3 separate regions of the Homo sapiens genome follow, and regions 1 and 2 are each linked to region 3. The links are contacts of gene promoters, found by promoter capture Hi-C in human tissues and cell types (Jung and others, 2019). All regions are on one chromosome and are shown on one strand. The core of a region is centred on a gene start or on the middle of the fragment in contact, and the rest is flanking DNA. Distances in the headings are between cores, read along the strand shown.

What was found. The method cuts DNA at HindIII sites, captures the fragments that hold promoters and counts their contacts. A contact is called where the count stands out against the background at its distance.
Region 1: a contact is called between the fragment with the promoter of NFS1 here and a fragment that was not itself captured in region 3, in 3 of the 25 tissues and cell types used here (aorta, dorsolateral prefrontal cortex and mesendoderm cells).
Region 2: a contact is called between the fragment with the promoter of PHF20 here and a fragment that was not itself captured in region 3, in 1 of the 25 tissues and cell types used here (dorsolateral prefrontal cortex).

The regions. Positions count from the first base shown.
Region 1 is chr20:35,697,681-35,701,502 of GRCh38, forward strand. NFS1 (NFS1 cysteine desulfurase) reads right to left here and starts at 1,672. Exons shown (of 13, transcript NM_021100.5): 1 at 1,512-1,672; 2 at 801-910; 3 at 4-120. The coding sequence starts at 1,608. ROMO1 (reactive oxygen species modulator 1) reads left to right here and starts at 1,725. Exons shown (of 3, transcript NM_080748.3): 1 at 1,725-1,776; 2 at 1,953-2,083; 3 at 3,118-3,300. The coding sequence starts at 1,953. The coding sequence ends at 3,226. RBM39 (RNA binding motif protein 39) reads right to left here. Exons shown (of 17, transcript NM_184234.3): 17 at 3,667-3,822. RefSeq lists enhancers at 1,239-1,898, 1,899-2,558, 2,130-2,349 and a silencer at 1,450-1,639. The HindIII fragment of the contact is 14,345 bases long and covers 1-3,822 here.
Region 2 is chr20:35,769,176-35,773,274 of GRCh38, forward strand. It overlaps PHF20 (PHD finger protein 20), which reads left to right and starts at 2,840. Exons shown (of 18, transcript NM_016436.5): 1 at 2,840-2,904. It also overlaps the pseudogene LOC124904972. RefSeq lists a silencer at 2,908-3,287. The HindIII fragment of the contact is 9,618 bases long and covers 1,798-4,099 here.
Region 3 is chr20:36,085,253-36,089,233 of GRCh38, forward strand. No RefSeq gene overlaps it. Among named protein-coding and RNA genes, the nearest start is that of NORAD, 36 kb to the left of the region's middle. The HindIII fragment of the contact is 7,451 bases long and covers 1-3,981 here.

The DNA of each region.
Region 1 (3,822 bases), core at 422-2,921, 390 kb before region 3:
AACCTGACGAGCACGTTCCATGGCTGCCTCACTCTCCCAGCCATAAGCATGTGTCCGGGAGTGTGGGTTCCCATAGTAGTTGATTAGGTAAGGGAGCATGGCATCAAGCACCCGGGGGTCCTGAACACAACAGAACAGATCATTTTCCTTGAGCGCATCGTCAATTCAGGTCCCACTCCACCCCTCAGACCTGGCCACCCTGCCTTAAGACACTCTCAACCCCTCAGGCACTGCCTAGAGGAGGCCTCAAACATTCTTTTGTTCCCACAAAACTACCCACCAAATATCAACCTAATACACTCCCACTCACAACCCATCCCAACTCGGATTGTTCTGCCTCCCCTCAGGTAGTCTACAAACACTGCCTTGTTCCGACATCTGTTTCTGCTGGTGTTTCCATTCCTGCCAGGTAATGTGATCTATAAGGGGCTGGGACAGGACAGGGCCTAGGCAAACACCCCTGGTCACACATTGGTGAAAACTTGCATTAGTCTTTTAACCCGTTTAATACTTGTCCAAGTTCACACAGTTACTAAGTGGCCGTTCTGCTCATTCCAGAGCCCATGCTTTTAACTAATACTATAGAGCCTGCGCTGAAGTGATCTGACCAAGGTCAATTGCTAGTGAGTAGTAAAGCCAATGCCAGTGGCCTCGAATTTAAGCCTCCCGACTCCTCGCTCAGTGCTTTTTCCAGCACACCTTCACGGCTCTCACTTCTCCAGGGATTCAGCCATTTCTTTGCGTGATCACGCCCATCATTTACTTCCTATAAGCAGCCTTGGGAAAAGCTTCATCCTTACCAGAGGAGTTGTAGCTTGCACATCCATATAGAGAGGTCGCAGCACTGGCCCCACCTCCGGGGCAGCGGCTGTATCTGCGGGAACCGCAGACTGAGGAGCACGGTCTCCAACTGATAAAAAATGGAACGGAGTAGCCAAGTAAGACCGAAGGCAACTATGAACGCATGGCATCCAAAGGGCAGAAGGAAAAATCTGGCTGGAGGTGAGATAAGTGTAAGGGATGCTAGGGTCGAATCTCAATGGAAAGAAAACAACACCAGATACCTGACACGCTGTAAAAGGAGGTAAGGGAGAGGGAGAGAGGGTTCCTGGAGGGGGTGTTGAGTTGATATTCAAATGGTATCGTAGGAAGGAAGGCTCTAAAGGGCAAAGACGTTTAGAAGGAACGTGGAGCCAGAGTAGGTGCAGTCCCTTCTGACCGAAGGTAACGGTCTGCACGGGAGCCCGGAGCAGCATCTGTAACTTGGCCAGGAGCGGTCTGAAGGACGCGCCTCCACGGCTCTGGGGGCCTGTCGCGCAGGGTGCGAGGGGTGGTGCGCCGGGGTCAACCGTTCGGGGACCCGCCTAAGAAAGTTTGAGGGATGTGTCATTTGAGAGAAGGGTCAGAGGGTCTGGGCAGCAGGGTGGACAGGAAGGCTCCGGAATATTCAGTTGCGTCGCCGCGCGGAGGGGACAGGTCCGCGCCTCCCGGAGAGCGGGACCCGAGCGTACCGCGCAGGCGCAGCCCCCGAGTGGGCGCCGCGGGCTTCGGCCCTGGAGCCGCTGTCACCGCCACTGCCGCCCGCCTCCAAGCGGCTCGGAGCAGCATGGTCCCGCTGGCAGAGCCCACCTTCCGAAGCCGCTGCAGTCCTGGGCCCCAGGCTCCCGGAAGTGCTGCCCGGCGCTCCGGAAGCGATTCATCGGGCCGCGAGCGCCCTCCCCGTCGTTTTCCGTGAGAGACGTAGAGCTGAGCGACCCAGCCCGCGAGCGAGGTGAGGTAGGCGCCGGGCGACGCGGGGCCGGAACGCGAAGAGGGTGGTGGAGTCGGGCTACCCACTGATTTTCCTTCCCTTACTTCCCCTGAGCCCTTGGGCCCACTTCCCAGCCTACCGCTTCCGTCCCCGCCCGACTCTTGGGCCAGCGCCTGGGCCCACACTTTCCTATCCCCCGCAGATGCCGGTGGCCGTGGGTCCCTACGGACAGTCCCAGCCAAGCTGCTTCGACCGTGTCAAAATGGGCTTCGTGATGGGTTGCGCCGTGGGCATGGCGGCCGGGGCGCTCTTCGGCACCTTTTCCTGTCTCAGGTGAGGGGCGCGGGCGGTGATCTCTGGGCAGGACAACCAGACCTTCCGGCCCTGCCCCATTCGGCCTGGAGCCTGAACACAGCCTCCTTCTTTCGACTTCCCTCTCTGTCCCCTCGCGAGCCAGACTCATTCCAAACCACCTTCAATCTGTAAAGTCAGGTTGGAAGCGTCAGTGCTTAAGAATTTGAGCTTTAGAGTCAAAATGCTTTCTGGCCCTTTTCTTACTGGTTCGGTGACTTTAGGCAAGTTGGAGACTGGGTTTCCTTAAGTGTAGAATGAAGACAGTAGCATCTAACTTATAGAGTTGTAAAAATTCGATCAGCACACTTTGCACAGCATCTGGCACATATTAAGTGCTCAGTAACTAGTTACTACTGTTGCTTTTATTTTTTTTTCCAATTGCGCATAAGGAAAGAAACTCGTTCAGCGGTTTTACTATTCTGGATACAGGATACAGAGATAAAGCAGTTAAACTTTACACTCTAAAGGTCATTTTCACATTTAGAGGCTGTTATTGCCATATCCCTAGATTGTAAATTATCATTTACAGAGCACTTACTCTATGTTAAGCACTGTGCTAAATACTGTAGTTTTCAAAATCCTGTAAATAATGTTGAGATGCCCATTTTACACTTGACACTATGTGTAAATTGTAGAGCTGACTCTTGAACCCCCACCTTACTCCAAAATCATTAACACCAAGAAACTAAAAGACAGATGTCTTTATTGGGTCTTAAACTGCAGGCAACACCAGTCAAAAAAGCTGGTTTCTCTATGTATTTTACACTGCATCTGCTGCCTCCCACAAACTGAAGGCAGTTAATACGACATCCACCAGAAAAATACCCTGGAGACCCAGATGGATCTTTTTCCTTCTCATTACCCACCCCAGGTAGTAAGATATAATATCCAGTAAGTGGAAAATCAGATGTAGGGGTTGCTAGACTAGTGTTAGCAAAAAATTGGAAAGGAGCAGTTAATACTCTTTCTGATATTTTTGTTACCAAATAGCTCCATCTTGGTTTCCTCCTCAGGATCGGAATGCGGGGTCGAGAGCTGATGGGCGGCATTGGGAAAACCATGATGCAGAGTGGCGGCACCTTTGGCACATTCATGGCCATTGGGATGGGCATCCGATGCTAACCATGGTTGCCAACTACATCTGTCCCTTCCCATCAATCCCAGCCCATGTACTAATAAAAGAAAGTCTTTGAGTAGTCAGTGTCCCTCTCTTAAAGGAATATTCTTCTCTCAGCCTATTATCCAGCTTTGCCAAGGATCTTCTGCACTAAAGAGATGGACTAACGTAATGACTAGGGTTAGTATCTCTTTCACAAGGCCTGCCTCTCTTAATCCAAAATTGGAAAACTTGGGAGTGTCTAGTATTTTCCATAGATACTATTCAACTAATTACTCAGTACAACTCTGTGCTTGTTACTACGGTCACCATTTTAAAGGAGAAAAACTACTTCAAAAAATGGATTTATAAGCCGAAATTTCCTCAAGGTCACACATTGCATTATTTCCAAAGCAATGTTCATCCTGAGGTTGGTTGTTTCCTTGGTCGCCCAGGTTGGAGTGCAGTGGCACGATCTCGGCTTACCGCAACTTCTGCCTCCTGTGTTCAAGCGTTTCTCCTGCCTCAGCCTCCCGAGTAGCTGTGATAACAGGCACGTGCCACCATGCCTAGCTAAATTTTGTATTGTTAGGCTGGGCGCGGTGGCTTATGCCTGTAATCC
Region 2 (4,099 bases), core at 1,590-4,089, 320 kb before region 3:
TTCCTCTCTTCTTTCCCTGGCAGGCTGGACTCATCCATGTGACCTGAGATTGGCCAATCGACAGTGGCTGCTGGCCAAGACCTTGCCTCTTGAGTGAGTGACTCAAAGACAAAGGGATACTAAGATTGAATCACAGCAGTGGTGCGCAGTGTTGCTGGGGGCAGCAGCTGTTGTTGCTCTTTCTTGGTGGAGCTGTCCTTGTGCCTGTTTGTTTTCCAAGCCTGCACTCCTGTTGTAGCTCAGGGGCCCTTGTAACATATTTCTCTTTTGCTTGCCATGATTACTTCACCAGTCTGTGAGCTCCTCGAGAGCAGGGCCTAAGTCTCATTGTGCTCTGAGTGTTTGGTGCCCATCTTGAATTTGACTCTCGGTAAATGCAGGTTGAATAAGTAAAGAAACATGCTATATTTATACGGGGCTACAGAGTCTGGAGTTCTTGGCATTATTGTGGTTGGGGGGCAAAAAGTTCTTTGTGTGCTACCATAGCCACTGACATCTGAGCAATTTCATATTAATAAACATAAACCCAGAGGATCTTGGGAAGGCCCTTCCTATATGTGAGCACTTACTTGACTGAGTGGCACTGATTCTCAAATTGCTGATTTTTTAAAAAGTATGAAATGTATCATGAATTTGCATGCTTATCCTTATGCAGGGGTCATGTGAATCTTTTCTGTATTGTTACAATTTTATTTTATTTTATTATTATTTTTTGAGATGGAATCTTGCTCTATCACCCAGGCTAGAGTGCAGTGGTGCTATCTCGGCTCACTGCAACCTCTGCCTCCAGGGTTCAAGTCATTCTCCTGCCTCAGCCTCTCAAGTAGCTGGGACTACAGGCATGCACCACCACACCTGGCTAATTTTTGCATTTTTAGTAGAGAGAGGGTTTCACCATGTTGGCCAGGCTGGTCTCGAACTCCTCACCTCAGGTAATCTGCCCGTCTTGGCCTCCCAAAGTGCTGGGATTACATGCGTGAGCCACCGCGCCCAGCCATGTTACAATTTTAATAGAATACATGTACTGCCCAAGCAAGTGTAGCTGAAGCTTTTGTCCCTGGTTCCACAGTGTCTCTACCTAAGGGCTGCTCTTTGCCCTGACTACCTCAACTGAGGCAATACCCTCCTTAGTTTCCAGCCCTGGTTTAAAAAGCACCCCTCAGGCTGGATTTGCTGGCTGAGGCCTGTAATTCCAGCATTTCTGGAGGCTGAGGCAGGAGGATCACTTGAGCCAAGGAGTTTGAGACCAGCCTGGTCAACAAAGTGAGACCCTGTCTCTAAAAAAAAAAAAAAAAAAACTCGGCCGGGCACGGTGGCTCACGCTTGTAATCGCAGTATTTTAGGAGGCCGAGGCGCGCGGATCATGAGGTCAGGAGTTCAAGACCAGCCTGGCCAAGATGGTGAAAACCCGTCTCTACTAAAAAAAATATAAAAAATTAGCTGGGCGTGGCGGCGTGCGCCTGTAATCCCAGCTACTTGGGAGGCTGAGGCAAAGAATTGCTTGAACCCGGGAGGCAGAGGTTGCAGTGAGCCAAGATCGCACCACTGCACTCCCGTCTGGGCTACAGAGCGAGACTCTATCTCAAAAAAAAAAAAAAAAAGTGGCCAAGTACGGTGTTAATTCCAGCACTCTGGGAGGCTGAGGTGGGTGGACTGCTTGAGCCCAGGAATTCAAGACCAGCCTGGGCAACATCGTGAAACTGCGTCTCTACAAAAAAATGCAAAAATTAGCCAGGTGCACACCTGTGGTTCCAGCTATCTGGGAGACTGAGGTGGGAGAATTGCTTGGGCCTAGGAGGTGGAGGTTATGAGGAGCCGAGACTGCGCCACTGCACTCCAGCCTGGGTGACACAGTGAGACCGTGTCTCAAAAAAAAAAAAAAATTAGCTAGGCATGGTGGCATGGGCCTGCAGTCCCAGCTACTCAGAAGGTTGAGCTGGGACCACAGGTGCGCACGTTCACGCCTGGCTAATTGTTGTATTTCTTGGAGAGACGGGGGTCTAGCTATGTTGCCCAGGCTGGTCTCGAACTCCTGAGCTCAAGTGATCTACCCACCTCAGCCTCTCATAGTGTTGGGATTACAGGCGTGAGCCACTGCTCCTGGTCTCATATTCTTTTGGGGTGGCTTCAACTCCGACCTTCGTCCCCAGAGAAAATACAGCTCCTTATCCTTAGCAGCAATTGGAAACCTTTCTAGGAGTTAATGATAAAGTGGGGGAGAAATGAGTGCAAAGGCTCTGAGATGAGAAGAACCTGGATTGTTAGCGGAGTTGAAGGACACTGAGAATGTGGGGGAGCTGGATTCGTGAGGATAAGAAAGCAGCAGGTCAGGTCCAGACTTTGAAGAGCCTGGTAGATAGTCTAGGTGAAGAGTTAGATCTTAATCCGGAGTAGGGAGGGAAACGAGCTTTGAGCAGGGGATGGCGTTTTGAAAAGACCTCTCTGCCGGTGTACGAAGAATGGATTAGAACGGCGAAGAGTAATAGGGTGGAAACCATCTTCATCTTGGAGAGAGATGGTGGTCGCTTCGATGGAGAAATGGGAAGCTTTGAGACGCATTTAGGTGGCAAAATTAACGGGTGATGGATAGCGTCCATTCCCCGGCTTCGGTGATCTCAGTGATTACGAGTGAGTGGGGACTTCGTGTTCCTGCTAGGGCGCGGGCCTGTTTCCCGCGCGTCAGGGTAGTGGGCGTGGCCTGCGCAGGCCGTTGCCACAGTGATCGGGCAGACGGGGCAGGGGGCGGGGCAGCTGGGACCTTACGTCACTCGGTGGTGGCGATGATGCGTGTGTGTGGGGGGCGGGGCATACGCTGGGCGCGTCCCGGGGGTCACGTGGTGCAGAGCACGCAGAGTCCTTCTGTCGGTTGGTCCTGGAGCGGCGCAGCCGGAGTGGGGCCGTGAGGTGAGCTCGCGGCCAGGCGAAGCCGGCCGGCCGGGCCGGGTTGGGCCGGGCCCGCGCTGCGCGCGCGCCGTGCGGGCGGGGACGGCGACGGACGCCACCGCTGCTTCGGTCCCCTGCCCGGCCCCGCTCCCCGCCTGGCCCCGCTCGCCCAGCCTGGAGGGAGGCCCTGGGACTGCTGCTGAGAGCGTGGCGGGCGTGCGAGCGGTGCCCAATCCCCGGGGCTACCCGCAAGAGTGGCGGCGGCTGCCGCCAATCAGCGCCGCCCGAGGGGGCTGGGCCGTGGGGTGCGGGCCCGGGGCGCGGAGCGGGCCGTGTTGGGGGTGCGGGTAAGCCCTAGGGCCCGAGCCTGAGCTGTGTGGGCACCTAGAGCCTCATCAGCAGCCTCTGCTATTGCCTTGCGCTTTGGGAATATGTTTTTTAAAATTGGCTTTTTTTATCCTATTCTGGGGAGCACATTCCTTTCTCAAGACCCCAAATATGGGAGTGTCCCTTTTCTCTATAGTTTTGAAAACTGGGCGGCACACCCCCTTTCTTAAGCTCTAGCTCTGGAATTTTATCTAAATTTCTAAAAGCCCTCCCCCCCCCAAATTTAGGGCGTACCCTCTTCCGTCAGCCCCCAAAGTGGGAGCACATTCCTTTTTTCGGGCCTCCAATTTGATTCTGCATTTCCGTTCCAATTTAGAGGTTCACCCTGTTATCGGGTCCTCAGATCTGGGGTCCATTAGCTAAAGTTTTGGGATACTTTCTTGTATCCCCTCTACTCCAAGGAAGAATTCCCCTTTTCCAGGTCCCAAATCTGACAGCATGCCTTCTGGAATTTCTTACATTTAGGGGCCACTTCCTTTCCTCAGCCCTTCAAACCTGAGGTTGGGCCGAAAACAATGTCCAAATTTTGAAGTTTATGGGTACTTATTTCCAGTTTCACAAATAAGGGAATTCACTGCCTTCTCCCGAGACTGTATTATTGGGGTTACACACTTTTCACGTGTTCCCCAAATCAAACTACCTTATTTCCTGAAGGAGACTCATTTTCATATCTGGGAGTATATTTGTTTCTTGTGCCCCCCAAATGTACGAGGTGAACCCCTTTTAGTTATACAACTCTCAGAGTGCAGCCACTTTCCAGATGCTTCTTAAATTTGGGGGGCACACCTTTTTGTGAGTCCTCTCATTTCCAGGTGGCGAGTGGTCTGTG
Region 3 (3,981 bases), core at 704-3,203:
GACTCAAACATGCAATGGCACTCCAAGTTTCTGCTTCGAACTGGCATGTATCTCTCTAGCTCACATTTCATTGGCCAAAGGAAGTCATGTGGTTAAGCTTGACAATGGGCTGGGGAAGTGCACTCCTTCCTCTGGAAGGTACACAAGTCACATGGCAACTGGCTAGGATGGATAATTCTCTTACTGGCCAAGGGAAGGGCAAATAATGGAGAAAAATAATACGTCAACCACAGGGGTTGAGTAACTTTCCCAAGATCAAACCACTGGGAAGGGACAGAGGCAGATTCAAACTCAGACAGTCTCCAAAGCCATAGTGAACTCCATGGCTCCCTACTGCCTGTTAGATGGAATCCAAATATATTTAAGCTTTAGGGCATTCCTGCAGCCTGGAGGGCCCTTCTACCTAATTTGTGTGCTGAATTCACTCTTTAAGGCTCCACTCCAATCTCAACTCCTTGGACTCACTCTTATTTGTCATGTGTTCCCTCTGCTCTAAGGCCCTTGTACAGTGTTCCCAAATGTTTGCAGTATTTTGGGATGAAAGGAGTGAGGGGCACAAGCTGCAAGTGGACTGTGCTCCTGAGGATGAGAGCACTTTGCCTACTTTTCCACCCCTCTAAACTAAGCTTAGTATCTTGTGCTTGGGTGACTCTGACAGGTCAGCCCCGCATGACTCACTCTGTAAGCCTTCAGCGCGGGTCACCACAAGGTCCTGGTTTAGGGTGTGTGAGTTGGTGGGTGGGGAGGGGAGGTGGAAATTAACTTTCACCTTTCAGGAACCTTTCCCTTCCCCAGGAGAAGGACAAGTGTAAGTCCTTCCCTTAAGTAGTCTGGGCAAGTCTCTACTCATCACTCCTAGGAGGACTGGGGAGGTCCTGGAAGGTGCAGAGGAGGAAGCTCTGAGAAGTAGAAACAGCACCAAACTGCACCATAGAAGACTTTACTAATTTGTCCAAATGACAGAATTTACCTTCTCTGAGCTTCAGTTTCCCCAGCTATAAAGTGGCAACAACACTGATCTTGCCCTCCTCCCTAAGTTGCTACAAAAAGACATAGTAAAAATCTTTAGGGTGCCGGGCAGGGTGGCTCACGGCTGTAATCTCAGCACTTTGGGAGGCTGAGGCAGGCAGATCACCTGAGGTTAAGAGTTCGAGACCAGCCTGGCCAACATGGTGAAACCCCATCTCTACTAAAAATACAAAAATTAGCCAGGCATGGTGGCAGGCACCTGTAATCCCAGCTACTTGGGAGGCTGAGACATGAGAATCGCTTGAACCCGGGAGATGGAGGTTGCAGTGGGCAAAGATAGTGCTACTGCACTCCAGCCAGGGTGATGGAGCAAGACTCCATTTCAAAAAAAAAAAAAAAAAAAAATCTTTAAGAATGCAGCCTTGAAATCGCACAGACTTGTACTGGAATCCTTCTCATAAGCTATGTGACTGAGAAAGTTATAGATCTTCATAAGCCATTACAGCTACCTCCCAGGGTGAGAAAATTATGTAAATAAATTTCCTAACATATACTAAGTACTCAATAATGTTGGCTATTCCTATATGAGATGATGAAACTTATTATTATATAGGGAAAGTCCCAGACGAGGACCCATTTTTGAACATTGAAAGGAGGGAGTACAGAGGCTAACTTTTCTTAGAATTGGTTGCTTCTTTTAGCCAAGTATAAGGTGTGGCTCAAAGGAATGAGGAAGCAGTTAATGAGGTGACAGGGCACAGAATACTGTTTGTCTTCACAGATCTTGGGGGAGGGATACAGTGGTTAGCTGACCTTCCCAAAAGATCAGAGATCCTGGTGTCTTGTCCACCCACAGATGCAGGCCACTTGACTCTGTCCTGTCCCCTCCTACCAGTCCAGTCACCACGTTCTGGTGAGGCTGCCTTTGAAATAATAATAACAATGGTACTTGTACTAATGATATTATTACTTTGAAGTGTATGAAGGCTTTCTAATACATCATCCCAGTTATCCTTCATTATCTCTCTCCCATTCACAGAATCCAGAGTTAGGAAGGATATTGCAGATCATTCTGCATTTTACAGATGGGATCTCTGAAATTTGAATAAAGGAAGGGATCTACTCAAGGGCTGGGATTTACCTGAGACTACACAATAAGTTAATGGCAGGGGCAGGACTAGAACCTGCAGCTCCTGACTACCAGCCTAGTGCCAGTGCCTCTTTCAAGTCACACTTGCATTGGCTTTCCATTCCCATGGCCTCCCAGTCTATTCTTTTTTTTTGTTTTTTGTTTTGTTTTGTTTTGTTTTGAGACGAGTTTCGCTCTGTCGCCCAGGCTGGAGTGCAGTGGTGTGATCTCGGCTCACTGCAACCTCCGCCTCCCGGGTTCAAGCAATTCTCTGCCTCAGCCTCCCAAGTGGCTGGGATTACAGGCACCCACCACCATGCCTGGCTAATTTTTTTGTATTTTTAGTAGAGACAGGGTTTCACCATGTTTGCCAGGCTGGTCTTGAACTCCTGACCTTGTGATCCACCCTCCTCGGCCTCCCAAAGTGCTGGGATTACAGGCATGAATCACCGTGCCCAGCCCCAGTCTATTCTTTTATCTCCTGGACCACTGCAGTGGTTTCCTACTGGTCCTGCCTGCCTCTGATCCCTCCCCACCCATTTCTTCTACACATACAGTCACATAATTGTCTGGAAGCACAGCTTTGATCTTGTCTTTCCCTTCCTAATAGAACTTGCCCATTTTTTCAACTTGAGAGGTCACCAGGATCCTAGTTCAATTTCCCAATGAAGACTTAATCTTTCCTTGAATACATATATTGACAAGGAGTTCATCACTCCCAAGGTGGTCCATTCCATTCTTGGGTAGCTCCAACTGTTAGGGAGTTCTTTATAGTGAGCTGAAATTGTCTTCCTGGATATCCCCCCACTGGAGGTGATGTGATGGAATTCTCTTTTTTTTTTTTTTTTTTTTGAGACCGAGTCTCACTGTGTTGCCCAGGCTAGAGTGCAGTGGTACAATCTCAGCTCACTGCAACCTCCGCCTCCCAGGTTCAGCAATTCTCATGTCTCAGCCTCCCGAGTAGCTGGGACTTACAGGCATGAGCCACCAAGCCTGGCTAATTTTTTTGTGTTGTTAGTAGAGACAGGGTTTCACCATGCTGGCCAGGTTGGTCTCAAACTCCTGGCCTCAGGTGATCTGCCTGCCTCGGCCTCCCAAAGTGCTGGGATTACAGGTGTGAGCCATCACACTTGGCCCCTTTTTGTTTTTTTTTTTTTTTAGACAGAGTTTCACTCTTGCTGCCTAGGCTGGAGCGCAGTGGTGTGATCTTGGCTCACTGCAACCTCCACCTCCCAGATTCAAGACATTCAGCCTCCCAAATAGTTGGGATTACAGGCATGTGCCACCACGCCCAGCTAATTTTGTATTTTAGTAGAGACGGGGTTTCACCATGTTGGCGAGGCTGGTCTCGAACTCCTGACCTCAGGTGATCCACCTGCTCGACCTTCCAAAGTGTTGGGATTACAGGCGTGAGCCACAGCACCTGGCCAATGGAATTCTTTCGTATCCATTCTGGCAGCAAATCTGTAGTCATTGTTTCATAGGAACCAGGTCCTGGATGGACTAGGTGCTGAGGAGAACAGCATATAAATTTGATATGGATCCTTCCCTCAGAGAGGGTGGCCTAGGAGTTTGCTAATGCAGAATTTTTTGTTTTGTTGATTAGACCTAAACGAAAGGAAACAAAGCAAATCCTCTTTCTGTATGATAGTCCTTCAGAGGTGTGGAGATAGTCACCATGTCTACTCTGTGCTTTCCCTTCTCCAAGCTATTTAAATCATTCATCATACAGCATGGCGTCCAGGTCCTCTACGTTCCGGTCTCCTGTAGACATGCTCCAGTCCCCCTAAGAATATGGGGCTCACAAATGAGCTTGGTGGTCCAGCTGTGATCCATCTAGGGCAGAGCTGGCCCAACTTTTTTTTTTTTTTTTTTGAGACGGG